Regions from separate parts of the Homo sapiens genome. Here all the other regions are linked to region 4. The links are contacts of gene promoters, found by promoter capture Hi-C in blood cells and fetal thymus (Javierre and others, 2016). All regions are on one chromosome and are shown on one strand. The core of a region is centred on a gene start or on the middle of the fragment in contact, and the rest is flanking DNA. Distances in the headings are between cores, read along the strand shown.

Region 1 (2,700 bases), core at 190-2,689, 360 kb before region 4:
GTCTTTCACATAGGAAAGCAGCAGTTAGGGACCTGCATTTAAGCTGGCTATTGTGAAACAAGAGCAAATAAGGGAGGAAATGGAATAGGGCTTAGTACAGCCCTGAGGTCACATGTTGCCAGATTTAAGTCCCACCCAATTTTCACCTAAACGACTTTAGATCTGTATGACACTCAGTTTTTTCATTCATAAAATGGGGTAAATATAGTACTGACTTCATGCGGATGTGGTAAGGATTAAATGAGAAAATATGCATGATTCTTAGGACAGTTGCTGGTACATAGTAAGTGTTGAATAAACATCAGCTATACATAAAGATCTCCCTTCAGGTGATAATGGCTATAAGGAAACTTACTAGCCAGGTCTAAGTTCATACCTGGGCAATTAATGATCATTGGTTCACAGTTTTCTCCTTTACTTGGCACAGGCAAATTTCTTAGTTTCAAAAATGTTAAAGTGTGACAACAAACTATACTTATTAAAGAATGTGGAAATAGAAGCCTAGACCTCTAGGGTTGCAAAAGGATTTCAATATCACCTTAGATTAGATTATCATGTAATAATCATTTCCATTTCTTATTATATACCAGATATTTTGCATATACTATCCCATTTAATTTTCACAAAGACCTATTTGAGAGAGATATTACTATTTTCATATTGCAGAAAAGACTGACAATCTCAGAAATCAAGTGACATGCACAACTGCATACCATTAGATTATAGAGCAGGAATTCGAACCCAGGTCTCTGAAAATATGAGATGTACAAACTGGCACACACTTTTACAGTGAAATCTCACTTGTTCATGGCAGAACCAGTTCATAAAAGGTCCTGAACGCTAAGAGAAAGATTGATTTAATTTGGGGGTGGGGAACTAAGGCAGGGCCACCTTATCCATTAGGCACAGTACAGTATGCACAGGGCTTAGGGCCTCCAATACTTTTAGGGGCCAACAAAAATGAATATTTATTTATTTTAGAGACAGGGTCTCCCCATGTTGCCCAGGCTGGAGTGCAGTGGCTGTTCACAGGTATGATCCCATTACTGATCAGCACGGGAGTTTTGACCTGCTCCATCTCCGACCTGGGCCGGTTCATCCCTCCTTAGGCAACCTGGGTGGTCCCTCCCTCCTGAACTTAAGTGCAGACACTCTATCTAGTGACACAGTGCACTACAGCCCAGAACTCCTGGGCTCAAGCGATCCTCTCTCCTCAGCCTCCCCAGTAGCTAGGATTACAGGCGCAGACTACCAGCCCTCCTTGCTTACGTTCCTTTTTTTTTTTTTTTTGAGACAGTCTCGCTCTGTTGCCCAGGCTGGAGCGCAGTGGCGCGATCTCGGCTCACTGCAAGCTCCGCCTCCCGGGTTCACGCCGTTCTCTTGCCTCAGCCTCCCGAGTAGCTGGGACTACAGGCGCCCGCCACCACGCCCGGCTAATTTTTTTGTATTTTTAGTAGAGACGGGGTTTCACCGTGTTAGCCAAGATGGTCTCGATCTCCTGACCTCGTGATCCGCCCGTCGTGGCCTCCCAAAGTGCTGGGATTACAGGCGTGAGCCACCGCGCCCGGCCGGCTTACATTCTTTTAAAGTCAGAAGAAAAAAATGAACTTTCAGGTCAGAGAAAATATTTTGTTATATAATATTGATACGTCATGTTTATATCAATGCAGTTGTAAAATATGTTAAATATTTATACATATATTTAACTTACATGTGTGTGAAATATATGTGTGTGTGTAATGTACAAGCCACAAGGCAAAAGTGCTCAGGGTCCAAGAAAGTCAAAACGTGTCCCTGCACCCGAAAAGCACGAAACCTTCTGGGGCAGTGATTATGGCAGAGCAAGTTGGAAGATGGCAGGTGGTAGACAAATTGTGAAAAATATCACATTTCTCTCACCCTGTCAAAGGCAACCCCAAAGTGAAGTCAAAATAGAGATGAAATGCAGGGTCACTTCCTAGCTGCGTGATCTTGGACAAGAGAGTTGACCAACCTGAGCCTCAGTTTCTCCATGGATACAATGGGGATGCGTGCCTCCGACGTTTGTTGGACAGGACCGGTATATACGAAGCATACAGCGGTATATACAGTAAATGCCCCCATAAATACACGTTGAATGAATGCAGTAAATGCATGCTTAGCATGGTGGCCAGTATACGGTAAGCGTCCAATAAGTGGTAAATGTTGGCTTTAAAAATTGTTCAAAAGTCTCCACGAGCGACAACCCTAGTTCTCCAAGACGCAGGCGCACCCCACCAGGTTCCACGCAGACCTGCGCAGTAGCTCCCCCAAGAGGCGAGGACACGCGACTGCGCTTGCGCATACGCGCTTTCCACCTTCCCTCCGGGCGCGAGCGCCCGTGGGGCGGGCCTCAGCGGCGGCGCGACAAGTCCAGAGGTGAGGGCTGAGGAAGGGGCGTGGCTAGCGGGCTGGCCTCAGCCACCCTCTTCCGGGCTCCGCCAGCTGCGCGCGCATCTTCTCCCCCTTCTTTTGTGGTCCGGCCCATTGCGAGGGTGACAGGAAACCCTGTGCAGGGAGCGCCGCCATCTTGGACCAGCCCGAGGAAGATACTGAGGGAGCACAGGAGCAGTCACCGCTGCCACTGCTACTGCCGCTACTGCTGCCGGCGCGTCTGCACCTCTCGGCCTGCCAGTGTACCTGCCGGCGCCTCGGTCGACCGCCCCCGCCCCCTCTCCCGCT
Region 2 (2,700 bases), core at 100-2,599, 270 kb after region 4:
CATCTTTCCATGTGCCTTTTAGCCATTTGTTCACTTTCTTTGGAGAAATGTGTATTCAAATCCATCGTCCATTTAAAAAACGTGAATATATTTTGACCCAGCAATTCCACTTCTTGTCATCTATTCTAGAGAAATCCTCATACTTGTGCATATGGGACCTTATAAGGACATTCATATGACATTGCATGTAAAAGAAAAACTTGGAAACAAATTGAATTATCATCAGTAGGGGATTGGGTAAATACACATCCTTTCAAAAGTATCTTTCAGACTGTGGCCCGTTGGTAGCTCATGAAATTCAATTTAGTAGGTTGCAACCAGGATTTAGAAAAATAGAACAGAATAGAAAACATTTCAAGGATGAAGGGTAATAATATTTCTTCTGTGGCTCATGGTCAGTAAGGTTTGAAGAACACTGCTGTAGAAAGCTTTGTAGGAGTTGAAAACTTTGAGGCATATCTATTTGTACTGTCATGAAAACATCATGAGGGCATATTAAGTAGAAGAAGGATGTTGTAGCATGATGTATACTGTTTGATTGCATGTGTTTTTAAGCAGCAAAATTGAAACTATCTATGTAAAAACACATAAAAAGTTCTGGAAGTTATAGGTCTTTTTGAAAACAGTGATTACCTCCTAGGCGGGTTCTAGATGGGAGCGAGGAGGAGCCAAGGAGAACTTTAGGCTTATCTGTATTTTTTTAAATTTATGTATTTTTCTCTAATTAAGAATAAAATAGAATGAAAAAGGGGTTGTTAAAAGACAAAAGTGAGTTTGTTTGTGTAATCGTTGTCAGAATGTGATATCTGGTCTCATCCATGACTCTCATGAAACAATTTGTCAAGGAGACATAAGACCCCTTGGGTCTTATGGTTTGAGTGGACAATTGTTGCTGGCATATGTAGGCATAGAAAGAGGTCAGTCCTTTTCGGTAGCAATAGAGCAAGATAGGAGGATGAGGTGGTGGAGCTCAGGTGAAGGTCCATTCAGTCACTCAAAAATTATCCACAAACAGTTGCTACAGCTGGGCGCGGTGGCTCACGCCTGTAATCCTAGCACTTTGGGAGGCTGAGGCGGTCAGGTCACCTGAGCTCAGGAGTTCAAGACCAGCCTGGCCAACGTGGTGAATCTCCATCTCTACTAAAAGTACAAAAAATTAGCCGGGCGTGGTGGTGCATGCCTGTAATCCTAGCTACTTGGGAGGCTGAGGCACGAGAATCGCTTGAATATGGAAGGTGGAGGTTGCAATGAGCTGAGATCACGCCACTGCACTCCAGCCTGGGCGATAGAGTGAGAGTCTCCAAAAAACCAAAACAAAACAAAACAGTCGTTATGATGGCTGTGCCCTGTGCTGAGTGATGGAAATTTTATGCCTCAGTCCATTCGGCCCTTAACCACCACCACACCCCTGCCACCCCCAACCTCCGGGAAGGCGTCAGGGGTACCAGGGTGGTGTAGGTTCACAGCAGGGGGTTTAAAGTCAGGCTGGCTTGGAGTTTCCAGCCTATTAACTTTTTGGTCTTTGTTTCCTCATTAAAAAAAAAAAAAAAAAAGGCAACATTAAAAAGTACCACCAGCCGCAGAAAGACTATAGTGAGGATTAAACCTGATTTTAGTTTCAAACATTCAGTTTAGAAAATGGACTTTAATCCTGTGGTGAGGATGAAAGGGAAGGCTGCCTGTCCTGTGCTGAGTGTGGTGCTTGTGCAGCATGGGTGCCCCATACAAGGGCAGGTTTCTTAGATTGTGCTTTATTTTGCACGTGAGGAAACTGGTACTCCACCATGTGTCACATTTATATAGGAGCTTTGGGCAGTCCACACACAGGCTAGCAAGTGGAAAAGACACTGGGATCCTGGATTTTGGGCTTGGCTTTGCCACTAACTTTTGTGATTTTGAGTAAATAAGTTCCTAACCCATTTCTGGGTTTCAGTCTTCTCATCTGTGGAATAAGATCATATCTGAGCCCTTTTGTTTTGCTTACATTGTCATTTCTCGTGAGTATCCCTGAGGCCCCAGCCTTAATTATAAGGCTACAAGTGAATGATTAGAATGGAAAGAGGGAGCTGCTTGTGGCTGGAGGTGTAGTTGGAACTGACTGGAGGGTGCAGATGACAGATTCATAGCATTTTAAAAGTGGGTAGGTAAAGCCCGAGTGGAAATTTGGCAGGATCCAAGCAAAAATTTCTGCATTACATAGTGGTTTTGTCTAAGAGTTGGGATGTCAGATGTCATTTTTCAAACTTCAGTGTTTGCCTGTAGGAAGCTTGTCTAAGACCAGAATCTTTGGCTTTGTTTGCTAGGTACTTTTCAGCTGTGATTGATCTTGGCTTGAGTTATTCATGGGCAGTTTTAGCCAGTGGGAGTTAATGTAATGGCTCTGGTACCCGGAGAGAACCCCAGATTGAGAATGCAGGACCAGACCTTAGGCTGAGCTTGGCCAATAACCTGGTGTATGTGACCTTGGGCTTCTGGACCACCATCTGCAAAAGGTGATGGTTGAACTTGATTTTAGTTTTTAAAATTCAGTTTAGAAAATTGACTTTGTCCTTTTAGTGATGTTTATTGGAGGAAATTGAGAATTATATAACATTAAAAAGGAAGAAAACCTCTCATTTCCCTACTAATGATGATTTTTAATATTTCAGTATATTTCCTTTGTCTTGTTATATATCTGTAGCCCACCTATTTCCAAAATGG
Region 3 (2,700 bases), core at 105-2,604, 310 kb before region 4:
CCATACAGCCCTCAGTGCTAACCTGGAGATAATTTAGTTGTGAGGTAAAATCAGGAGCTAATATCCTAGCCCCCAAGAGTCAGAAAAGCCAGGCAAGGAGTGCAAGGGTGAAATGCCTAATGAAAACCTTGAGCTCACATACTTAAAACCACTCAAATCACAGTGATCACAGTAAGAACAACAATATGATAATCATGATCATCCCTCAGGTTACAGTTTTCCAAGAACTTTTATTTTTATACCCTAATTCCATTTTGACATCCTTGGTGATGGAAGTTAGTCAGAGATTTTTAAAATGTATTCATTTTTAAAATTAAAAATTCGTTGCAATTTTAAAGACAATACGTATTTGTTTACAAAAAAAAAAGAAGACCATGCAGATATGCAAAAGGAAGACAACAGAAAATACTCAAAATCCCCCCTTATCAGATGACCACTTTTGTACTTTGGTATTGACTAAAAATACAACCATAAGTGTTGATAAAGGCATTTAACAGAAATGATCTCATAGAGTATACCATGTTTTGAGACCCACTTTTTTTATTCAGAAGTATTGTATTGAGTTGGGATTCAAATTTAGTTCAGACTTCATGCTTAACAACTATAATACATAGCCGCATTTATTCTTTTCTACAATTAAACATGTATTACTTTTATAATCATAAAGTGCTGTGTCAGTTGTTTTTTCAAGGTGTCTATTGCCATACCTGGCTTTTCAGCTTTTCCAGCTCGGCTCTTTTGGCCTGAAGAAGCACCTCAGATTCTTTAAGGACCTGCAGGTGGTGATCCTCATTGCGTTCTGCCATCTCTATGTCTTTCTGTAGTTTCTGAAGCCTACAAAGCACCAGCAACACTAGAGCAGATCCTAAGGGACTCGGAACCCCAGAGCTGTCTTCCAGCACAAACCCCTTGTAGCCCTACAGAGGCCTTACTTACTCTTCTGTCAGTTTTTCCTTCTTCTTGCTTAAACATTGGAAGTCTGAGTCTTTTGCTGCTACAATTTTGTTTATTTCTTTCAAGATTTCTTCTTGCTTGATTTTGTGCTGCTCCAAATCCTTTGCATCAGCCTGGAGCGATCTAAAGCACATTGCTTTATTCCCCCCAGGTCCTGTAGACTTACCATGCATTATTTATCATAAACCAATTATTATCCCCTTAGAAGCAAACTTTTCATTCATCTCAATGTATACATCAACGGCTTAGGGAATCCACCTACCTTAGCTGCTGATCAGCTTTGACGAGGTTAACAGCAGTTTCCTGAGCTCTCCTTTCTAATTCCTCAGCATCTGACTCAGTTTGCAATAAACTTCTCTTGGCATCAGTGAACTTTTCAACAGCATTTTTTGTCTAGAAAAGAAACTGTCATTAAAAGCCATTCAGTTACAATACTCACTCACAGCTACTGGCCATGTAAACCAGTACAGCTCTTTTGGAAAACAAGATGGTACAGAAAGACATAAAAATGTCCATTCACTGTAACTCTAATTCTCGGTAAATAATTCAGAAGCAAAGAACTACTATATAAAAATGCTCAATGTATAATAATATAAGACCTGACAAATAATAATAGGCTAAGTGATAATGCATTAACAAAGTGGAATACTGTGTAGCCTTTCAAATGATCAGATGACAATGTAGCAACACGGAAGAATGTTAATATTATGTTGGCTGAGAAAAATAAATTTAAAATGGTATAAGCACTGTGAGAGCAACTGTGTAAAACTACATGTGTCAACAAAGACAGAAAGACTATATAAAAATAAATACAGTCATTTGAAAGTAGTGGAACTAAAGATGCTTTTTATTTCAAAATAATCTGTAATACTATTATATCATTTTAAATATTAAAACTATCTACCCAACTAAGTGGGAAGGAAGTGATTTTACCAAGATTTCCTCCACACAGAAATTCTTGCTGCACTCTATAGTTATTATCAAGCGAAGTAAAAATGCATTGATCTGGTGATAATGTAATTACGGCTGACAAACACAAACATTAAATACTTTGCAAATGTTTAAAATCTTCCTATATAAGATTTGGTAAAAACACATTTGTTTTAATCAACTTGGTTTCTTTTTCTGCCTAACATAAGATGCTTAAAACAATGACATCAAAAGTTCCAAAAATAAATAGAGTGTGGTTTGCACTTGGTTGAGCAGTGACTCACCTTCAGCCAAAAAAAACTGAAGTCTGCCATTGTACTAAAGCCAGAGGAGTCCGTATGTTAAATTTGCCTATTAAATATCTGTGTGGATGCAAAAGGGTTGGCAAGCTCCCAGAGAGCTACATATTTTACCATACGTCTTTCCATTTCAGATAGCTTGTTTCTGTCAGTTTCACCAGCAAAGCACTGGATAAAACTGGCTATGCATTCCAGAAAAGCCACCAAATAGTTTTTTGTCTCCTTCTATGTCAGGTTTTAACATGTCTGGCACACTCCTTCCAAAACACCACTACTTTCTCTCTCCTCCTCCTTCTTACCAAGCTGCCTCCCTGAGTCATTTTGGGAGGATGAAGGTGAAAGAACTTACCAGCCTTGGTTGACTTACTACCTCTGCCTACTACCACTGCCATCAATTTTCTTTTGATGATTTTATATATCTATACCTATATATATTAATATATAACCAAAATATACCAAAATTTATAATCAAAATATACCAGTGATATTTTGATATATTATCAAAATATCTTATTAT
Region 4 (2,700 bases), core at 198-2,697:
AGAGTCTTTGTAAAGCAGCAGTGGTTTTATCATTTTGTCACCTGAGGCACTGCCACAAAAAAATGAGGGAAATCCTGTCCTTAGCTTCCTCTAAGCTTTCCAGATTTTTGTCTTTTGCCCCAAAAGTAGGAAGGCATGCACTGCAAAAGATGGGTCATCTCCTTGGCGTTGAAGACCTGTTGAGGCACAAAGCCTCTCTCCAGTTGCTTGGAATACTCGATACCCACTCAGGATTTAAGGGTCCTTCCTCCCCATCAACTTCGTATGTTGCAAAACAGCAGCGATTTTTAAAGTTCTCAAACCATCCCTTGCTCGCATGATACTTATTTGGGTTGTCCTCCCCAGATGTTTCCCATTGGTTCCCTGTAGATGTATTTGGCCTGGTTGCAGAGGGCCTTCCGGGTCAGATGCCGCCCTCTGTCATCTGGCCTTCCACCTAAAAGGTTAACTGGGTCTCCACCTTCACGATGTTTACATTACAGGGGAATACACAGCAGCTTAGAGCAGATGGGCGACCAACTCTCCACGCTGGTCTTTCTTGGTTTCCTGAGGGTAGTGGAGGACAAGAGGGGAAAGCAGGGTCTTGCTCTGTCGCCCAGGCTGGAGTGCAGTGGCACAATCACCGCTCACTGAAGCCTCGACCTCCTAGACTTAGGGGACCCTCCCGCTTCAGCCTCCCGAGTAGCTGGGACTACAGGTGCGTGCCACCACACCGCACTAATTTTTTTCCTTTTTTTTTTTTTTTCTTTTTGGTAGAGACGGGTTTCTCACTATGTTGCCCAGGCTGGTCTCGAACTCCCGGGCTCAAGCGATCCTCCCGCCGCGGCCTCCCAAAGCGCTGGGATTACAGGTACGGCCACTGCGACCAGCTGCTTCTCCTTGGTGGACTGATCAACACCAACAAGGCGGCGCACGTCCCTATTACTCACGCCTTCGTCAGGCTCCTGGAGAATATTCATCCAGTCTTCCAGAGGCATGACGCTCCGCCTCCTCTTGACAGGTGGCTGGCCCAGGATCAAGATTCCCCTCCAGGCCACCGCTCCACCTGGGGAGGCCTCAGCCGCGGCCGTAGCCGCGGTGGCCTCCATAACGGCTGCAGTCGTCCCCGCCTAGAGCCTGGTTTTGGAGCCTCGAGGACGCCGACGAGGCTGTTTAACTTCCCGTGAGTCCCCACCCTCGCCGCTCCGCTGGCCGGGAATTTGGCAAGGCTTTGCCCTACGCGGTAAACACGTAAGCCTACTGGCCTCCGCATTTCCCTGAGCAGCGACCTAGATGACGCCAGACTGAGGGAGCCGCAACCACTGGCTACAGTTGACACGGCCCTAACGGAGGCTTCTCGCGAGGCTTGGCAGCCCCATAGCCATCTCAGGGACAAGGAGGCTGTGATCAGATCTCGCGAGGTTCAGGAAAGCGCCCCGGGAACTGGGCCGCTGGGCCAGCCCCTGCGTCGGGGGGCAAGATGGCAGCCCAGGCTTTGGCGCTGCTGAGAGAGGTAGCGAGGCTGGAAGCGCCGCTGGAGGAGCTACGCGCGCTTCACTCCGTGCTGCAGGCAGTGCCGCTCAACGAGCTTCGCCAGCAAGCGGCGGAGCTGCGCCTCGGCCCGCTCTTCTCCCTGCTTAACGAGAACCATAGGTGAGAGGACCCCGGGGGCTTGAGCCGAGGAGAGGGGCACCCCTAAATATGGACATGAGAGTGGTTGAGGGCAAGAACAGCGCTTTTCCCAGTCACAGGGGAGGTGGAAAGTAGCCGAAATTTGCAGAGAAGGAAGGATCCTGGGTTCAGAGGCAGGAGATGGGGTTCAGGTTCAGCCTCTGAGAGTGCCCCAGGGTGTTTTCTCCCGTCGCCTGGCCTCGCTGCCTCTGAGCAGTGAGGCACTGCCTTCTTCATCAAATAGAAATTAAAGGAGGAAAGCAAAGCTGTCCACTTACAAGGAGCATTCCACATCTCTTTGTACAGGTTCTTGATTTGTTTCCCCTTCTAAAAGGATCCTATCCTGGCAATGTGGCAAGAACCATCAGCATTTTAAATTCACATGCTTTTTCATCCAGTCATTCTTGTTAAAAAAATTTAATGCAAGTATACGCGCACAAAATGTGCAGTTACTTTGTTCTTTCGAACCCGAGGCTGGAATCGCCCCAAAAGCAGCGGCAAGAGAGTTCCCACGAGGGAGTGCTTCAAACCTTCCCGAGATGTGGCTGGTTGGGATGACAGAAAAAGAAGCACTGAATGCCAAGGCGATCAGTCCAAAAGCGTTTAGGGGGAAACCTGCAGAGGGCTGCAGAAATTGTCAAGACGGACACCGGGAGAAAGGTGTTCCTGGGTATGTCCGCAGTGAGGGGGTCAGGGTATGGAGTTCAGATGAGAGTTTAAAGGAATTTGGCTCAGGGTTGAGGCCAGTTTCTTCCAGTGTTTTGGGCAACAACCTAGGTACCTTTATCAGGCCTGTGAATGTTCAAGGCCCCTGGTTTATGGTCAAGCCTGCTAGGGAAACCTGCCGCTGGCTAGGTCAGAGAGCAATCAAGGCACTCTGATTTTCCATCAGGACAGAGAAAGAAAGGGGGCGACTGGAGGACCCTACAACATTATATGCAAGAATATAACATATCGTGTGTGGCACCAGAACACTAGAAACAATCTAAATATCCGTTAACAGAGGATTCCAAATTATGCGCTATTACTCTGTAACACTGTGCAGTTATT

The links. Contacts are between HindIII fragments. The CHiCAGO score rates a contact against its expected background, and 5 or more counts as called.
Region 1: a contact is called between a fragment that was not itself captured here and the fragment with the promoter of PSMD5 in region 4, in 8 of 17 cell types (naive CD4 T cells, naive CD8 T cells, non-activated CD4 T cells and 5 more). The highest score is 12.5, in naive CD4 T cells.
Region 2: a fragment that was not itself captured here is called in contact with the fragment with the promoter of PSMD5 in region 4 in 1 of 17 cell types (neutrophils); the score reaches 6.4 in neutrophils.
Region 3: a contact is called between a fragment that was not itself captured here and the fragment with the promoter of PSMD5 in region 4, in 5 of 17 cell types (naive CD8 T cells, naive CD4 T cells, total CD4 T cells and 2 more). The highest score is 9.7, in naive CD8 T cells.

What each region holds. Positions count from the first base shown.
Region 1 is chr9:121,201,715-121,204,414 of GRCh38, reverse strand. It overlaps RAB14 (RAB14, member RAS oncogene family), which reads left to right and starts at 2,546. Exons shown (of 8, transcript NM_016322.4): 1 at 2,546-2,700. It also overlaps a transcript of GSN not described here and the pseudogene RN7SL181P. RefSeq lists enhancers at 1,965-2,124, 2,395-2,614, 2,433-2,700 and a silencer at 2,625-2,700. The HindIII fragment of the contact is 7,258 bases long and covers 1-2,700 here.
Region 2 is chr9:120,573,675-120,576,374 of GRCh38, reverse strand. The region is part of intron 1 of CDK5RAP2 (CDK5 regulatory subunit associated protein 2); the gene reads left to right. Among named protein-coding and RNA genes, the nearest start is that of CDK5RAP2, 5.1 kb to the left of the region's middle. The HindIII fragment of the contact is 1,838 bases long and covers 431-2,268 here.
Region 3 is chr9:121,156,117-121,158,816 of GRCh38, reverse strand. CNTRL (centriolin) reads right to left here. Exons shown (of 44, transcript NM_007018.6): 28 at 1,217-1,347; 29 at 937-1,077; 30 at 708-834. Among named protein-coding and RNA genes, the nearest start is that of RAB14, 44 kb to the left of the region's middle. The HindIII fragment of the contact is 9,656 bases long and covers 1-2,700 here.
Region 4 is chr9:120,841,669-120,844,368 of GRCh38, reverse strand. It overlaps PSMD5 (proteasome 26S subunit, non-ATPase 5), which reads left to right and starts at 1,447. Exons shown (of 10, transcript NM_005047.4): 1 at 1,447-1,632. The coding sequence starts at 1,460. It also overlaps the pseudogene CUTALP. RefSeq lists enhancers at 876-1,225, 1,184-1,478, 1,244-1,538, 1,426-1,725, 1,297-1,826. The HindIII fragment of the contact is 10,742 bases long and covers 98-2,700 here.